2 separate regions of the Homo sapiens genome follow, and region 2 is linked to region 1. The links are contacts of gene promoters, found by promoter capture Hi-C in human tissues and cell types (Jung and others, 2019). All regions are on one chromosome and are shown on one strand. Each heading gives the region's core, a stretch centred on a gene start or on the middle of the fragment in contact. The rest is flanking DNA. Distances are from core to core; before and after follow the strand shown.

Region 1 (5,828 bases), core at 1,366-3,865:
CTGCAGAACCACCACCGAAACTCAGCCTTATTTCTAAGAGATTGTTTGTGTGTGTAATGATTATAAAATGCGACTAGCCATTTTACAGAGTGAAATCACAATACTTTAATGAAGTGCTGGGCTGGGTGTGGTAGCGAGTGCCTGTTGGTCCCAGCTACTCAGGAGGCTGAGGTGATGATGCCTTCAGCCCCAGAGGTGGAGGCTGCAGTGAGCCCTGATCACACTGCTGCACTCAAGCCTGTGTGACAGAGTTGTCAGGCCTCTGAGCCCAAGCTAAGCCGTCATAACCTGTTACCTGCACGTATACATCCAGGTGGCCTGGAGCAACTGAAGAACCACAAAAGGAGTGAAACAGCCAGTTCCTGCCTTAACTGATGACATTCCACCATTGTGATTTGTTCCTGCCCCACCCTAACTAATCAATCGACCTTGTGGCATTCCTCCCCTGGACAATGAGTCTCAGGAGCTCCCCACAGAGCACCTTGTGACCCCCTTCCCCTGCTAACAATAGATAACCACCTTTAACTGTAATTTTCCACTACCTACCCAAATCCTATAGTACTGCCCTACCCATCTCCCTTTGCTCTTTTCAGACTCAGCCCACTTGCACCCAAGTGAATAAACAGCCTTGTTGCTCACACAAAGCCTGTTTGGTGGTCTCTTCACGTGGACGCGCCTAACAAGAGACCCTGTCGCAAAACAAAAACCACCAAAAACCAAAACAAAGTGCGGTAGAATTGTGACAAGGTGAGTCTTAAGTCATGGCAGCACTTCAAAAAAAGGCAAAGTAGCTTCCTACCAGTGTGGTGTAGCAGTGAAACTGCAAGTTCTGCAGTCATAGCAGCTGGACTTGGATCTGTCTGCCCCTGACTAGGGAAGAGGCCTTGGCCATTTCCTTGATTTGTCTGAGTCTACCCAGCCATCAGTGCTCAACCCTAAAATATCTAATTGGTCAGACTGAGTGAAGAGTAAATGTTTTCTGTTCCTTCTCCTATATACTGATTAGGGGAGGCAAGCAAAATTAATAAAGGAGGAATGTTCTGTTCAGAACTATCCTTCATCCATAAGACGGATCCCTAAGACATTTTCCATCCATAAGAACTCAAGTATCGGAAACCATTCTCACCTGACCAGCCTGTCAGCCAGCGATGCTCCCCATCCACCCTGCTGGAAGGAAAACTGGAGGAAGAAAAGCCCATTATTACTACTAATGACTGTAACCGGGCATCTCAGCGAGGGCAGTTCTGATTGGCAACTTCTGTTTTCTCGGCGCTCCCTTCTTGGCTTTGATTGCTTCACTCCAGGAGGTCATTTTGGGGATTACAGGTAAGTACACCTGGCAGCACTTTAGCAGAGGGGGATTTTTCTCTATCAAAAGCTAAACAGCCTGTATTCCCAGCACTTTGGGAGGCCAAGGCGGGCGGATCACATGAGGTCTCGAGTTCGAGACCAGCCTGGTCAACATGGCGAAACCCCGTCTCTACTAAAATTACAAAAATTAGCCCGGTGTGGTGGCGCACGTCTATAATCCCAGCTACTCGGGAGGCTGAGGCAGGAGAAACGCTTGAATCCGGGAGGCGGAGCTTGCAGTGAGCCGAGATCGCGCTACTGCACTCCAGTCTGGGCGACAGAGCGAGACTCCGTCTCAAAAAAAGAAAAAAAGAAAAAAAAAAAAAAGCTAAACAGAAATCTAAGTTCAGGAAATAAAGTCAAAGGTCAGTGAGGAAATGAAGGCCACACCGCCTCACTGCTTTGCTGGTTACCGAGCTGAGGGTGAACACTTTTTCATACACATTCCCATGGAATTCGGCAGCTCTGACTGCCCCATATGCCTAAACATAATGTTACCAGTTACTGGCGTATACACAAAAGCCTGGTGAAGCAAGTCCTGTCTGAGAAGAGGACACACACAGGAATGGAATTTCTACTCCCTCCCCGAAGTAAGAACCTGCATTTAGAAGACCGTTCCCTTCATGGGAGGTGAGATGATCTTGGATGAACGGATGGTCCTTTTCTACCTAATTCCTGAAGGCGTTTTACTTCCAAGGTCAACCCCTAACGGCCCCACCTGTGCCCGCAGGGAATGGGGCGAGAGAGCTCCTGGCGCCTCTGCCCGGAGCTGGCCGCGGGGCCTCCTGGGACACAGCGCGCGGTCGCCCGCGGCCGCTAACCCGGACCCGGAGGGGAAAGGCCGCTGCCCAGGAGGGCGCTGAGGGGAAGACCGCGCATCTCGACCCGGGTGGGAGGCGGCGCGGGGCGGGCAGCGCGGCCGGGTCCCCTCGCGTCTGTGCCTGGAGCCCGGGCTCTCGCGGACGCCGTCGTGACCTCCGGGACGCCGCGGGCCCGGAAGGCGCAGCCACTGGGGGACCCGCCACTCCTCCGGTGTCTCCACGGGCGTGGCCAGGCCTCCGGCCCAGCCGTCTCGGGCGCCGAAGAGGACGGCGAGGAGCCTCGGCCTGCTCGGCAGCGACCCCGCAGGGAGGCCGGGGCGGGAGGCCGAGCGTCGGGGCGGCCGTACCTGGGTGATGGAGTCCCCGAAGAGCAACAAGCGAGGCCAGAGCAGGGCACTCCCGCAGCCCGCGGCCTCGCACAGCGCCATGGAGCAGCCGGGCGGGGCGGGGCGGGGCCGCCAGCCACGAGAGGCGCCTGCGCAGTGGCCGCCCGTGGGTTGCGGGAGCCGGGCTCGTGGGCACCCACGCAGTCACTTTGGTGACGCGCGAAGGTCGTTGCCCCTTGGAGTCCGTTTGCAAGAAGCTCGGCCTCCGCGCTTGCTCACCCACAGCAAGGCTGCCCCCAGGGAGTCCGGAGCCCGCGTCCCGCTGCGTGGTTCCCGGAAGAAAAGCGGTTGGGGGCCCTTCTAAGCCCACCCCGCGCTCCGCGGGCGCAGGTGCGTTCGGCAAAGGGCAGGAGTGTGACCTCAGGACGCGCGGCGGGAAGCACAGCTGGCTCTCGGTGGGGCGGAGGGCTGCTCCAGGCCCCCCTGGAAGAGGTCGTGGGATGCGCGCGCGGCCTCCTGCGCCCAGCGTCACTCTGGAGGGCCTGTAACACCCACGAGGACGCAGGCACTGCGGAAACCCTGGCAGTACCTCGTGGTTCTGCGAATGACAAGGGAAAGCAGCTGCACCTTCAGTGCGCGCGCAGCCGGCCGCTTTTCTTTTTCCCGCCGTGGGGTGGATGCGCAGATGCAGAACCCCGCGGACACGGAGCACTGACTAACTTCCAAGGGATTCACCTGTTAAAACGTGGTTGTAATGCAACGTTCTTACCTCAACTGTGCAATGAAGTTCGGCAGCCGAGCTAAAAACGAACGGGTGGGAAGGATGCCTTGAAATCACGGAGCTGTAGATGAGTAACAGAAGGGCCAGGGGCGCCGGCGCAGAGGCCGACCCCGCTCCCTGGGGCGGGGCGATGGGCGTAGAGCATGACTTTCTTTAGGTTGCTCGTCCCAAGCTCGCTTGGATCACCTGGGGGAGCTTTACAACTAAGATCCAACCTAGGGCCCTCATTCCAGCCGGACTAACTCACCTCCTGGTGGCAGGACTTGGGCACAGGTGCACTTGTGATGCACCCCACGTGATTCCCACGGGTAGCCCAGATTGAGAGCCCCTGCTAGAGCAAGCAAAGGTGCCTGGACTTCATCTTTATCACAAGGACTTCATTAAGGCCTTCAAGCAGCAGAGGCTTGAGGCCAGGTCTGTTCCAGGAATCAGCTATAGGGGAGGAGATGGAGGTGGTTGCAGGAATTCAGAGGGGAGAGTAGACTTGGACTCGAACAGCAGCAGTGGAGATGAAGACAGAAAAGATTCAAGTGCAACTTAGAATCCTTATTATTAACTCAAATTGGTTACCCCAGAGGAGAGGGTAACCAGCAGCGGTTGCTATCGGCAGATCTTGATGGTTTCAATGGGAGCTGCACATACATGCCTGGAAGAAGAATCCAAAATTCTAAAATAATGGGCAGTTGATCTAGTAGTTAGTTCTAGAATAATGGACAAATTAATTAGCAATTTAGCAGTATTCAGGCTGTTGAAATAAAGGCCATTTGACATTAAAAGTAAACAGGCTCCCCCAGAGAAACGAATGCATTTTATTTTAGGTAACAAAAGTAGAGTCAAGTATTTTTTCAAAGTTCATATACAGGCACAGTCTCAGTGAACTGGCGTCAGGGCCTCGTACAGTCTCTGTGCAGCCAGCTCCACCATTTCTCGGAGGGATTCATCGTCTTCACTTCCCTCTTCACATTCTACAGTCTGAAAGTGAGGCACAAACAAGACTGTTAGAATTAAGTCTATAATGATTATATAGAAGATAAATGAATACTCTTTAAAAAAACCATCATCTCATAAAAAATTAGCCAGCTGTGGTGGCGTGTGCCTGTGGTCCCAGATAAGAGTCTGAGGTGGGAGGATCACTGAGCCGGGAAGGTTGAGGCTGCAGTGAGCTGTGACTGCACCACTGCACTCCAGCCTGGGCGGCACTGCGAGACCGGGTCTCAAACTAAAAAAAAGAACAATCATCTGTGTGTGCAGAGGTCATGGTGGGACTGATTACCATGAAACAGAACGGCCGCCCTACACACTTGTGGGCGTGCAGTGCTTCCTGACAGCAGCACGGTCCTAATTAGTGATGACTTGAGGCTGGGGTGAAAGACTGGGGAAAGTCTAGTAAACTACATTTACATCAAAGCCCACAGTTTGATCTAGTAAATGATACTCCAGGGAAGTTCATCTATGCCACACAAATTACTTGGCAAGGAATGGATGTGGCTATCTACTCAACATTTGGTACTGAATTTGACTGAAACTCACTAATAATCTTCTAGTTGCTTCTTTTTTTTTTTTTTTTTGAGACAGAATCTCGCTCTGTCGCCCAGGCTGGAGTGCAGTGATGTGATCTCAGCTCACTGCAACCTCTGTCTCTTGGGTTAAGGTGATTCCTGGGTTCTCCTGCCTTAGCCTCCCAAGTAGCTGGGATTACAGGCACACCACCACGCCTGGGTAATTTTTGTATTTTTAGTAGAGATGGGGTTTCATCATGTTGGCCAGGCTGGTCTCAAACTCTTGACCTCAGATGATCCACCCACCTTGACCTCCCAAAGTGTTGGGATTACAGGCGTGAACCACCACGCCTGGCCTCTAGTTCTTTTTTTTTTTTTTTTTGGAGACAGAGTCTCGCTCTATCATCCAGGCTGGAGTGCAGTAATGTGATCTTGGCTCACTGCAACCTCTGCCTCCCTGTTTCAAGCAATTCTCCTGCCTCAGCCTCCTGAGTAGCTGGGACTACAGGCAGCTGCCGCCATTCCCGGCTAATTTTTTTTGTATTTTTTAGTAGAGATGGGGTTTAACTGTGTTGCCCGGGCTGGTTTTGAACTGTTTGGAAAATCCACTTGGATCTTGCTGGTGCAAACAGAAGAGCGGCTTCTTTAAAAAATGGAGAGTCAACTAGATGCCAAACTAGAGAAGGGATGAGGTGAACTAAGCTGTATTATGGAAGAGGACAGCAATGGAGTGGCATACACGCGAACCTTGTACTATGCAGTAACCCGGAAAAACACGGAAAACTTCAACCATAATAATATAAAAAGAACAATGTGAAAAAAATGTTGGAAACACTGGAAGCAAATGCCAATATGCAACAGTAGACTGTTGAGTGTGAGAGCACAGATTATTTATGCCTTCACTTTATTTCCCAAATGTCTTGAAACGTAGGAAAGAGCAGCTACATACCCGTGTCTCCAAGTTAAGGTTGGCAGTTTTCCCGTCCACTGTGACGCTAAGAATAGAGTCATCCTTTACACTTACACAGTCTTCTCCAAATATGTCCCTGAA
Region 2 (5,828 bases), core at 1,582-4,081, 640 kb before region 1:
GGGCTCAAGCCATCCACCCGCCTTGGCCTCCCAAAATGCTCAGATTACAGGCGTGAGCCACCGCCCCACCGGGGTTGGTATTTTTAACCCTTTTCATAGGTGATGAAATGAAGGCCTGGGAGGCAAGGAAACTGCCCAAGGTCGCACAGCACAACTGCACAGCAGAACGTTTTTAGCCTAGCTTTTTACTATGAATGTTTTCAACATACAGAATAATGGAAGGATTCCTAGTGTTCACCCACCAGCTAGGATTCAACAGCTGTTTCCATTTTGCCATATTTGCTTCATGGCAAATGTGGCAGACACCCCCTCTGTGGGTGTATGAGGCTTATGCTTTTTTATGGATCATTTGAAAGTGAGTGATAGATATCATAACCCATCACCCCTAAACGTTTCAGCTCCTAAAAATTAGGACACTCTGTTAATATCACCACAATACCACATTTATCCCTAGGAAAACTAACAATAATTCTCTAATATAACCTAATATCCAGTCCATATTCCTGTTTTTCCAATTGTTTCAAAAATGTCTCATAGTTTTTTGGATTTATTTTTTTGTGCAGTATCTAATTAATCACATGCATTGCGTTTATTATGTTGCTTTAGACTCTTAGTAAAGCTCCTCCACTTCTTTTCCCCACGACATTGACTTTGAAGTACAGGCCAGTTTTCTTGTAGAATGTCCCACATTCTACATTTGCCTAATTGTTTATTCACAGTGTCAATGAACTTGTTTTCCTGACCCCTGTACTCTACACTGGAAGTTAGGTCAAAAGGCTTTATTAGGCCCTGCTTGGAGGTTCACGCCTGTAATCCCAGCACTTTGGGAGGGTGAGGCAGGCAGATCACCTGAGGTCAGGAGTTTGAGAGCAGCCTGGTCAATATAGGGAAACCCCATCTCTACTAAAAATACAAAAATTAGCCAGACGTGGCAGCAGGCGCCTGTAATTCCCGCTACTTGGGTTCCCGCTACTTGGGAGGCTGAGGCAGGAGAATCATTTGAACCCAGGAGGCAGAGGTTTCAGTGAGCCGAGATCACACCATTGCACTCCAACCTGGGCAACAAGAATGAAATTCCGTCTCAAAAAAAAAAAAAAAAGTCCGGCGGGGGATCGTTATTAGCCTAAGGCTAAAAGTTATTGGCAAGAAGACTTCATACGTGATAATATAGCTAGGATTTGAACCCAGGTCTGACTAACTCCAGAATTCCAGACTCTCAAAAACTTTGTTTTAATATGAACTGCCAATTACGTATATTTATATATATATATATATAGATGAGGTCTCACGATATTGCCCAGGCTGGGCTCAAACTCCTGGGCTCAAGCTATCCTTCTACCTCGGCCTCCCAAAGTGCTGGGATGACAGGCATGAGCCCTTGCGCCCAGCCCAACATTCTTAATGTAGCACAGCACAGCAGCACCACAACCACAAGTCTCAGGAGCAGCCCAGTTCAACTTTGTAGTTAGTTTATGTGTCACTCACTCAGAAGTCAGCAGGAAATGGTTAAGCAGGAAGCAGGGTGGACAACCAGATGGAGCTGTTTGATGCTGATGTGAGTGTCACCACATCATTTGTGTCTAGAACATTCGCATTGGAGAGCTTCAGCCACTGAGAGGCCATTTTCAGGAGATGGTGAGGATGAGGCAGCCAGCACAGTGCAGAGCCTTTGGGATTAATGATTTTCTTCGTGCTCAGATAACCTCTAAAATGATGTTGAACAGTTATGTGCCACTTTACACACATTTAAAATAGACATTTAGCCAGGCACAGTGGCACACCCTTATACTCCCAGCTACTCCAGAGGCTGAGGAAGGAGAATTGCTTGAGACCAGGTATTTGAAACCAGCCTGGGCAACACAGCAAGACCCCTGTCTCTAAAACTAAAATAAATAAGAATTAAACTGACATTTAAACTTTTAGTCATAAATAGTTACAGGAGATGTAATCTCCATCATGTTGCAAATATTAGCACTTTAAAATGACAACTGGCCGGCATGGTGGCTCACACCTGTAATCCTAGCACTTTGGGAGGCTGAGGTGGGAGGATGGCTTGAGCCCAGAAGTTCAACACCAGCCTAGGCAACATAGACCTTGTCTCTGTGAAAAATAAAAAAGTAGCTGATTGTGGTGGCACGCATCTCTGGTCCCAGCTGTTTAGGAGGCTGAGGCAGGAGTATTGCTTGAGCCCAGGAGGTTGAAGCAGCAGTGAGCCGTGATCACGCCACTGCATTCCAACCTGGGCAACAGAGCAAGATGCTATCTCAAAATAAATAAAAATAAAAACCACAACTATGTGCTTTTAACTCTTAGAATTTAGAATCCACAGATTTCAGTATGTTTGTTATGCTTATTTAAAAATTCCTAGTCTGGCCAGGCGCAGTGGCTCACGCCTGTAATCCCAGCACTTTGGGAGGCCGAGGTGGGCAGATCACAAAGTCAGGAGATTGAGACCATCCTGGCTAACACGGTGAAACCCCGTCTCTACTAAAAATACAAAAAAATTAGCCGGGCGTGGCAGCAGGCGCCTGTGGTCCCAGCTACTCGGGAGGCTGTGGCAGGATAATGGCGAGAATCCGGGAGGCGGAGCTTGCCAAGATTGCACCACTGCACTCCAGCCTGGGCAACAGAGTGAGACTCTGTCTCAAAATAAATAAATAAATAAATAAATAATAAAAAATAAAAATTCCTAGTGTCTGCCACATCTTTTTTTTTTTTTTAAAAGAAACAGGGTCTTGGCCAGGCACAGTGGCTCACGCCTGTAATCCCAACACTTTCGGAGGCCGAGGCGGGCGGATCACCTGAGGTCAGGAGTTCCAGAACAGCCTGACCAACATGGAGAAACCCCGTCTCTACTAAAAAAATTACAAAATTAGCCACGTGTGGTGGCACATGCCTGTAATCCTAGCTACTTGGGAGGCTGAGGCAGGAGAATTGCTTGAACCCGGGAGGCGGAAGTTGCGGTGAGCCAAGATCGTGCCATTGCACTCCAGCCTGGGCAACAAGAGCAAAACTCCATCTGAAAAAAAAAAAGAAACAGGGTCTTGCTCTGTCACCTGGTCTGGAGTGCAGTGGTGCAATAATGGCTCACTACAACCTTCAACTCCTGGATTTAAGCAATCCTCCCACCTCAGCCTCCCAAGTAGCTAGGACTGCAGGTGCACACCACCACGCCCGGCTCATTTTCTTTTATTATAGAGACAGGGTCTCACTATGGGTCCCAGGCTGGTCTTGAACTCTTGGCCTTAAGTGATCCTCTAGCCTCAGCCTCCCAAAACGCTGACATTACAGGCCTAAGCCACTGTGCCTGGGCTTTGTCCATTTATTGATTGGGTCATTTATCACTTTCTTATTGATTTATAGGGGCTTTATATGATTTGGACAGTATTTCTTTCTATTATATATGTTGCAGTTTTAGTTTCCTAATATTCCATTTATGTCTTTTTTTTTCTTTTTTAAAAAAGTATTAAGCTTTATTTTGAGGTAGTTTAAGACACACAGAAGTTGCAAAAATGGTAAAGTTACTCATCCAGGTTACTCAATATCTTACATAACCATAGTACATTGTCAAAATCAGGAAGTTGACAGTAATTAAATTACTAACCTTGTTTGGATTTCACTGGTTTCTACATGCAGTCATGTATAGGTGTATGTGTACATGGTTCTTTGAAATTTTATCACGTGTAGATTTGAATAACCATCACCAAATCAGGATACAGAACTGTTCCATCACCACAAAGAAGATCCCTGTGTTGCTCCTAATTGTTAACACCCTAGCCTTAACTCCCGGCAACCACTAATCTGGTCTCTATCACTGTAATTTGTCTTAGATAATATTCTATAAATGGAATCATATAATGTGGAACCCTTTGAGATTAACTGGCTTTTTTTAACTAGAAATAATGCCCTTGAGATTCATCCAAGTTGTTGAATGTATCAACAGTTTCTTCCTGTTTATTGCTGAGTAGTGTGCATTTCCTTGGATGGCTGTTCACCTGGTGTGGGACATCTGTGTATTTTGCTTTCTTGTTTTATTTACTTTTTTTGAGTTGGGATCTCACTACGTTGCCCAGGCTGGACTCGAACTCGTGGGTTCAAGTGATCCTCCCACCTCAGCCTCCCAAGTAGCTGTGATCACACATGCATGTCACCAGGCCCTTGCTCACATCTTGCTTTCTAACTAATTAATTTCTTTGCTTATCCCCTCTCAAATATTGGTTGGGTTTACTTCTTTTTTTTTTCTTTTTTTTTGAGACAGAGTCTCTCTGTCGCCCAGGCTGGAGTGTAGTGGCGCCATCTTGGCTCACTGCAACTTCCACCTCCTGGGTTCAAGCAATTCTCCTGCCTCAGCCTCCCGAGTAGCTGGGATTAAAGGCACCCACCACCATACCCAGCTAATTTTTGTATTTTTAATAGAGAAGGAATTCCACCATGTTGGCCAGGTTGGTCTCAAACTCCTGACCTTCAGTGATACACGTGCCTCAGCTTCCCAAAGTGCTGGGATTACAGGCAAGAGCCACCGCACCCGGCCGCTGTTACATTTTCTTTTGAGTACGGTTTTGGCAAATCCCACAGGTTTTAATGGATAGTGATCTCACTTTTGCATTTTTTAAATAGTCTGAGATGTGGGTTTTGATTTCCTTTATTACCTAGATCTGGTTTATTTAGAATGTTAAAACTTTTCATCTCCATGTGCTTTGATTTTCATTTTGAATATCTTTTCATTCAGATTACATTGTTAGAATCATTAGATGAATTTTAGGAGAACTGACATCTTTATGATATTGAGTCTTCTAATCCATGGCCACGGTATATCCCTCCATTTATTTATGTTGTCCTTAATTTTTTTCAGTACTTTTTTTTGTAGCTTCCTATATAGCGGTCTTGCACATTTAAAAAATTTTTCTCCTGGATATTTATTATTTCTTATTCTATGATAAGTAGTATCATTTAACTTTTTTATTTTCTAAATTTATGCACTGATATATATAGACATTGTTTTTCATATTATTAACCTTAAATCCTACAACCTTGATCAATTTGTAATTAATTTGGTTTATCTGTGGACTCCTTTATGTTTTCTTCATTCACAGTCATGGTGCCTGTAAAGAATGACAGTTTTACGTCTTCCTATCCAATCTTTATGCTCATTTTTATTTTACTTTATTATCATTATTATTATTTAGAGACAGGATCTCACTCTGTCTCCTGGACTCAAGTGCAGTGGCACGATCGTAGCTCACTGCAGCCTCGAACTCCTGGGCTCAAGCAATCCTCCAGCCATCACACCATCTACATTGAATGTAATTACTTATATATTTGGTTTACATCTACTATATTAGTACTTGTTTTCTACTTACCCACCTGTTTTGTGTTCTTTTGTCTCTTTTCTTTTCTTTTTGAGATGGAGTCTTGCTCTGTCACCCAGGCTGGAGTGCAGTGACGCGATCTCGGCTCACTGCAACCTCTGCCTCCCGGGTTCAAGCAATTCTCTTGCCTCAGCCTCCTGAGTAGCTGGGATTACAGGTGCCTGCCACCACGCCCGGCTAGTTTTTGTATTTTTAGTAGAGACAGGGTTTCACCATGTTGGCCAGGCTGGTCTCGAACTCCTGACCTTCAGTGATCTGTCTGCCTCGGCCTCCCAAAGTGCTGGGATTACAGATGTGAGTCACTGCGCCCAGTTTTTGTCTCTTTTCAAATATTCTTTGGAATTAAAAAGTTATTATTCGGCTGCACCAGGCCTCACCAGATGAGTTCTACCTGGTGACTTCAGCTTACATCACGTGGAGAAGAAAAATTGCCAACCTTAGCCCCATCCAAATTCCTGA

The links. The method cuts DNA at HindIII sites, captures the fragments that hold promoters and counts their contacts. A contact is called where the count stands out against the background at its distance.
Region 2: a fragment that was not itself captured here is called in contact with the fragment with the promoter of IAH1 in region 1 in 2 of the 25 tissues and cell types used here (aorta and bladder).

The regions. Positions count from the first base shown.
Region 1 is chr2:9,471,338-9,477,165 of GRCh38, reverse strand. It overlaps IAH1 (isoamyl acetate hydrolyzing esterase 1 (putative)), which reads right to left and starts at 2,615. Exons shown (of 6, transcript NM_001039613.3): 1 at 2,519-2,615; 2 at 1,127-1,179. The coding sequence starts at 2,599. It overlaps CPSF3 (cleavage and polyadenylation specific factor 3), which reads right to left. Exons shown (of 18, transcript NM_016207.4): 17 at 5,727-5,823; 18 at 4,065-4,250. The coding sequence ends at 4,149. RefSeq lists enhancers at 996-1,556, 2,037-2,804 and a silencer at 2,074-2,843. The HindIII fragment of the contact is 18,322 bases long and covers 1-5,828 here.
Region 2 is chr2:10,114,029-10,119,856 of GRCh38, reverse strand. No RefSeq gene overlaps it. Among named protein-coding and RNA genes, the nearest start is that of RRM2, 5.8 kb to the left of the region's middle. RefSeq lists an enhancer at 1-331. The HindIII fragment of the contact is 3,706 bases long and covers 979-4,684 here.